2 separate regions of the Homo sapiens genome follow, and region 2 is linked to region 1. Evidence: promoter capture Hi-C in human tissues and cell types (Jung and others, 2019). All regions are on one chromosome and are shown on one strand. The core of a region is centred on a gene start or on the middle of the fragment in contact, and the rest is flanking DNA. Distances in the headings are between cores, read along the strand shown. Region 1 holds the start of ELAVL2 (ELAV like RNA binding protein 2). Region 2 overlaps LOC101929563 (a long non-coding RNA gene).

Region 1 (3,479 bases), core at 312-2,811:
CACATCTACCCTGGATCCTCTCTTTGGCAGTAGAAAGCCAAATGATTTCTCCTAAACCCTGAGAAATCACAAAAGTTAAAATGAAGCGTGTGCCTATCTGCCCAGCTTGTCATCCCCAACCATCTTTCTCCTGGCGTCAATTTAACAATAGCTATTCGAGGAAGTGGGGGCGGTAAGGAGGGGGTGAGGGCTACGTGGCCGAGTTGGCTCCTGGGGTGGCTGCGAAGCCTCGCGGCTGCAGAGGGGTTCCCCCTCTCCCCGAAGGCGAAGTCAGCCGCGTAGGACCAAGGACAGGGCTTGGAATCCACTTCCCAGCGCCCAGCACAGCGAGGCTCCCAAGCAGCCGGCACTTCATAGACACAGCTCCAAGGATCTTATTTACGCTTTTCTGAACAAAGGGAATCTCATATCCGGTACAGGCTTAAGAATTCAGCCCCAAATTGGCTATCTTCTTTTAAAACTGAATTATGATAATTGGAGTCCGTGAATCAGAGCCCGCATACAATGATGAGTTCTGACAGCTTCTAACAACCCTAGCCTCAGCCCAGCCCCAGCCCCAGCCCTCAGGCGGCATGTACTTTTTTCAGTCAACTACAACTCGCTGCCTGGTGCAGCATCTAAATTCCATCTGGCAATCCCATCTCCCCAGCACATGCTATCTGGTTAATGCAATTAAGCCTGTGGTTTTCGCTGGTCTAATCTGCCAGTCCAGGCTTCTGATTCCCCTTAATGATTGTAAAGCCTCTCCCGTCCTTCCGTTGCTGAGCCAAAGTAGAGGCATGCATCCCCAACACCCAAGTTATCACTCTCTCCCCACGAAATGAACTTCCGATCTCAATCTTGAAGCTCACTCCACATCTAACCTCCCATTGTACCCCTACTCCCCCCTGGCCACATTTACCACTTAAGTTTCTGCCATGGACATTTACGAATATTCAGTACGCTAAGCATGCGTCCACCGTCTTTTAGTCTAGCTCTTTAAAATTAAAAAAGCAGAACAGTAGCTTTGAAATGAGACAAACATGTGCAATTAACTTCATATTCTGTATTCCGCTCACTTACAGGTTTTCTGGGTTTGCCAGCGCATCGCTGCAACTAATGATTAAAGAAACCAAACCGAAACTTACCTTTCTCCCTTAAGGTTTTTGTGTATGTGTGTTTTTAAAGTAACGGTGCAGTTCTCCCAATAAGGATGAGCAAGAAGCTGCTGGATAGTTCTCTTAAGACAGCACGAAACCTAAACTGTGCTCGGCTTAAAAGAAGCAAATAAAAAGAAACGCTTTCGACCCCAAAGTCCAATGCTAAAAGAAATGGCGAAAAAAAATATGAAAGGGGAGGGGAAACTTAAAAAAGAGTTTAAAAAGACGGAGAGACTACCCTCCTATTGCCGTTCAACTAAACAAAAAGGGGCAAGAAAAACAAACCAAGGAACAAAGAAAAGAGACGAAAGAACGTTTTTTCAAAAAGACGATGTCTTTCTCCTTGTTGCTTTTTAGTAGGTCGCTACAGGAGTAAGCTGCTGCATCTCTAACTAAGAACAGAAATAGGGGGGAGGACGTCTTAAAAGGGAGGTGGACTGGACCACAGATTTATAGCACCGTATCACCAACCCCTTCTCTGCCTCCGCACTGCCGTGTGTGCAGCTGCTCTGCCAGGCTCCTATCCCGGGCAGCACGCGCGGAAGTATACGCCGAATCGCGCCACAACGTAACTTGCTCATCGCCCCAGGATCCTGATTGGTCCACACGCTTCCATTGAGGCCGCCCAGGCGGGGCCGCGTGAGACGATTGGCTATGGGCTTGTGTCACTCTCGAGAGCTCAATGGAGTCCCGTTTCAAGGTAAGTTGTGCGGGGAGGTACACTCTTAACACTGGCGGCGAAGGGAAATGCAAGAAGCAAAAAGAAATGTGGAGAGAGCAACGTGGGAGGGTTGGAACTGTACTATCAGAGTTTGCGATATGGCACGATCTCCTTTCCTCTTAAATCTTTCTGCTTCAGAAAGATTCATTTCCTTTGCCATCACTGCTGCATCTGTGGCATATTTCTTTATAACATTTAACTCTGTCCGGTATGTATGAGTCATTGAGAGCTCCCTCTCTTTGATCTGAGTGAAAGGGATGAATGTACATCCATTATTTGCCCGCATGCCTTTTTTCGATTTGTGTTCAGTACTGTATTTTGTATTAGATGTTAGGTAATTGTATGTCTTTATTTTAATATACGCATATTTCAGATTTATGTGTCCCCATGAACCCCTTTTTAAAGCATCCTTTTAAGATAAAGATGAAGTCAGAAATGCTCTCAAATAAAGCTGCACGGTTTGAATTGGCTTTCACTTCATGTTAGAATAGAAAAGTGTAGGATAAATATCCTATCCAGAAAAAGAGGTATTGAGTAGAGCTAAGGTCCTTCACTTCGAGGTGTCTAATGATTCTCAAAAAGAGCAGCTGTATATAAAACTGGAACAAGCCACTCCTCTGCATTTGCAGACAGGTACAGTCCTTGGACCACACATGTATTGCTGACAGCAAAGATAGTTGAACCTTTATCAGGGCTCTTTCTGTGAGGATTTAAGAAGTTTAACCAGAAGACCAAGTGCTATCAATGCTTCTGCTTCATAGAGGAAGACTACTTTATTACAACCCCATATTTTAACAGCATTCAGGAGACCAAAATACAGTTTTATGCATGATAATTGTTTCTTCCTCTAAGTGAAAGTGAGGTCCTCAGGATCGTCTGGATGTATAAGTAGACACAATATTCATTTGACCTACGTTCTTTTCCAGCCAGCATTTCTCTTTTCAATCTTGAAAGATAGCACCAACTTCCTAGACAGTTTTTACCATTCTTACCAGAATGTGTAAATGTAATGTACACATTACATTACACATGTAATGTGTCTTAACCAGAGGCACATGCCTTTTTGAAAGGGATTCCTTTACATATTTACAACTAGTCGCTATCTTTGAGAATGCCGGAAAAAGAAGACACAGGTAAGAGTTAGAGATTGCAAAAGGGTAGGGTGTCATGGAGGGGAATGGGACAGAAGATCCCAAAGCAAAATGACTTTGAAGTGAGGAATACAGTAAATCAGTGTTCTTTGAGAGTGTCCTTGAGTGTTGATAAATGATTAATGGTGAAAAACAGACCTGTTTATCTCCCGTGTAGCCTGTATAACAATATACGAGTTCTGTTACTTTGCATGACAATACCTGGGGCTTGAGAAAGAAGGCCTGAATCTATGTTATCTTATAATTAGTGTTTATAAAATCATGCCTTAACCTCCACCCCCAGTTTTTGTATAACAACCTCTGGAGTCTTAATTTCAACTTAAAACTATTCTCTAGACCTGGGTGAAACTCACAGCAAGAAGAAAGAAAAGCACTTTGAAGAAATGGAGTCAAGGGGGAAAAGGAAGACTCCACCCCATCTAGACTAGATGTATGAATAACAGAAGATTGGGTTTGTAGTCATCTTCC
Region 2 (3,479 bases), core at 694-3,193, 200 kb before region 1:
CACAGCCCTTGGTGTAGCACATATTTCTTTATTTTTATTGTCTATATCCCCATAACCTTCAGATCCACAAGGAAAAGGATTTTTTCTGTTATCGTTGACTGCTATGTTCCCAAGTGTTAAATAAATATTTGTTGAAAATAGAAAAGAAAGGAAAGAAGAGAAGGAGGAACAAAGTCGGTATCTTCAAGGATTCTCCACCTTGGACTCGGCACATTAGCTTCTATGCGGGCCTTTTCATTTGAACGTATCAAGAGAAAAACCACTAGGAGCCCAGATCTCAGACAAACTAAACATGTAGCTTTTGTGGTTTTCAAGAGAATCCATTGCAAACAGTTTGGTTTCTAGGTTAAAAGAAAAACAAAAACAAGCATTTTTCAAGCAAGGTAGCTGAAGCACAGATAAAAGTTTAGAGTACATCTCTGGGTTGCTGTCAAAATCCCTTTCTGATTAAATGTAATAAAAGAGAGTCAATACTAAAATGTTAATAAAATGATGTTTTTCCCCTAGTCGCTAGCATCTAATAAAGGTGTTTTGATCCTATTTATGAAATAAATTATATTACTTAGTACCCAAAGGTGTGATTTTGTCTGTGGGAGGTAATCATATTCTAATTTAATGACAGAGAGGAAAAATCATGCATGACTAAAATAGCTGTAACACAGGCTATCCAGCTTTAAGAAGACTTACATCTTGAAAGGGGCTACAGACATGCCAATGCTTGTTAAAGTATTAAAATTAACATGTTTAAATTTTTTCATTTACTATATATTCAGTGTGCCTTCTTCCAGATCCCATAAGCCCACACTATCTTTCTCATGCATATTTAATCTTTTTTTCCCTGGGAAGTCAACTCCACAACCACCCCTCCAGAAAAAGAACTGTAAACAAGGCTGAAGGGAAAAGTGAGACAGGGAGATGAGGCGAGAGCAATGCAAAAGGACAGATGGCTAAGAAAAGCAGAGCATCCTAGAGTCACCCTCAAAGGAAGAGAGAGACAATTAGAACCAGAAGGGAGCAGATTCATTTCGGAGGCATTTAAGGCTCTAATATCTTCCCCAAGCGGAGAAATGGGTTCTATTTTGAGGCAAAGGGGAGGCTTATGAATACTTTATAATGTTTGCATTAGACAGCCTATGTCAGCATGAATAGATTGCATCCTTTGGGTGAGTAAGCCACTCCCTGGTCAGTGGTTAGAAATTTTAAATGTCTTTCCTGAAGCAAACTTCCTGGGAGCAGTTGAGTCACCAACTAAGGTGATTTAGAGGCAGACAGAAAACCTTTAATGGAGGAATAATGAACTACTCTGCATGCATCCATTAGGCCCCAAGAGTATAGGAGGCCTCCCAACAGGGTTCAGCAGAAAACCATTAGTGCAGCCACATTTTGAACTGTATGAAGACAACTGGGGAAGAACCTAAAGCGTAAACTCTCTCTTCAGCCACACCAACATCATTTTCTACCTTAAGCTGGGATGGCATGACTGGTATGTGATTTCGTAAGAAAAAAGGGGTCAGTATGATTTATTAAAATTCTAATCATTCAATCAAAATTTCTGGTGAGAATTCCCTTGTCTAATACTTGGGCAACCATAACTAAGGCCATCCTGCTGTCCAAGCACATTTTTGTTTCAAGTGAGTAAGGCAAGTGCTGTGCCTGAGTTATATAGGAAATACATGCTTTCCTATAAGATTGCTAAGGGCTAACTAAATTCTAGGCCTAATTAATTTCATTAAAATGACACTTGGTTTGAAAAATATTTTAGTTTCACTTCTCTCAGAAGTAGATCAAGAGGTGGATATTAGAATGCAAGTGGGAGGTGATTTGGGGCAACTCCTGCAAAAACATGAGACAGGAAAAAGGAAGTGAGCTAATAAAAGGTTCATTGTCAATAAATTACCACAATGGGCAAGTGGCGCTTAATCTCACTGGGGAATTCTAGGAAGCAGCATGGAAAATGTGCCTCAAAACTTAACCCGCCTGAGAGAGGAAGTATAGTCATATACCAGCTCCCCATTATGGGATGCTGGGGGTGGGAAAAAGGCCTTAATTGTCCAGCACTTTCCAACCTGCTGCCTGCCTGAGGGTGGAAGAGTGGGTGGTGGTTGAGGGAGAAAGCCGAGTGGGTTTCAGCAGCCACGGAAAGCACGTAAGGAGAAAGAAGCTGGTGCTTGCACCAGAGGTCAAGCCCAGTGTGCACTGAAATGGCAGGGGTCTAGGGCAGCAAGAGCAACTGCTGCTGCAGGAAGAAAAGTCAAAAAGGAAGCAAGCGCCAGTGGACTATAGCGAACTAGAAAACATGGGCTTTCAGTGTCGCTTGTAGATACTAACATTCGTTACAGGCTTCAATCCAACCAAAAAAAGTTACTCATATACCCCCAGCAGCTGCAGCCACACAACCACTACCACCACCCAGTGCCCAGAATGCTTAGGTGGAAGACAAAGCTGGATTGCTCTGCTTAATAAGGGGTGTGGAACTTAAAGTGCCCTAAGAGAATCAAGGAAAGAGGACAGATGCCTAGGAGCCTGGGTACTGTGTGAAAGTTGAGGAAGAAAAAAAAAAAATCACCACCCCTACTCTCCATTCTGCTCTAGGAAGAATAGCTATGTAGAAAAGACTGGAGAAAAGAAATCTGTAACAGACGATTTTTCATAGTTTCTTGTTTCTTAATGTGAGACACACATATGCACATACAATAAACTTCCTCTCCCCTCTATTCTTAAAAACCTTCAGTGCAAACTACATTATCCACTAACACTTTGGTAGGAGGTGATTCTAGAGTCACTCCGAAGGTTGCCATGCCCTACATCTGAGGTGGGCATTGACAAGGGGACAGTGCACTTCCTAGCTATATCCCTGTTCAGAGCACTTTCTAACATACCAGAGCTCCACAACAAGTCACTCGTTCGCTGATTCAGTCTCAGATGTACATTTTGGTGTTTCCCCCACCGAGATCCCCCATTAGATGTTTTAAAAATTGAGACCAACATGAAACTCTGACTTCTGGGGTAAAAACTCCCAGCAGTTTTAATATATTGGGATAACCACATAGCTCTTATCAGTTAAAGAGTATGTATTAAGATTGCCACAATCCCCACCACTCTTTTTGTTTCCCATACATTACACTTGCACTGATTTTTCCCAGGAAATCCTAGCAAAAACGTGTCTAGCAAACATGGAAAAAGGAAAACTACTGCTAGCCAGAGCACTGCATGATTCTAGAACAAAAGAGAATGTATACTTCTCTGTGGAAATGAAGAACAATCCTAAGTCTAATACAAAAAGTGTGTGTTGTGTTTGAAGTTTCTGGAGTCCTTGAGACTGACCTTTATGCTCAGAAAAGATTACTCTGATGGCACTTTGGTTTTAAATATTAATATTTGATTTTTCAGGTTATAAATTTAAAAGTCTAAAATAAATAAATTTAAAAGCCTACTTTTTCCTTCAGCTTACAAATATAATTCTGTTTATAATCTAGGAA

Evidence for each region. The method cuts DNA at HindIII sites, captures the fragments that hold promoters and counts their contacts. A contact is called where the count stands out against the background at its distance.
Region 2: a fragment that was not itself captured here is called in contact with the fragment with the promoter of ELAVL2 in region 1 in 2 of the 25 tissues and cell types used here (dorsolateral prefrontal cortex and thymus).

What each region holds. Positions count from the first base shown.
Region 1 is chr9:23,824,679-23,828,157 of GRCh38, forward strand. ELAVL2 (ELAV like RNA binding protein 2) reads right to left here and starts at 1,562. Exons shown (of 7, transcript NM_004432.5): 1 at 1,128-1,562. LOC105375992 (a long non-coding RNA gene) reads left to right here and starts at 1,750. Exons shown (of 3, transcript XR_929519.3): 1 at 1,750-1,839; 2 at 3,348-3,462. The HindIII fragment of the contact is 12,029 bases long and covers 1-3,479 here.
Region 2 is chr9:23,620,192-23,623,670 of GRCh38, forward strand. The region is part of intron 9 of LOC101929563 (a long non-coding RNA gene); the gene reads right to left. Among named protein-coding and RNA genes, the nearest start is that of ELAVL2, 200 kb to the right of the region's middle. The HindIII fragment of the contact is 5,206 bases long and covers 1-3,479 here.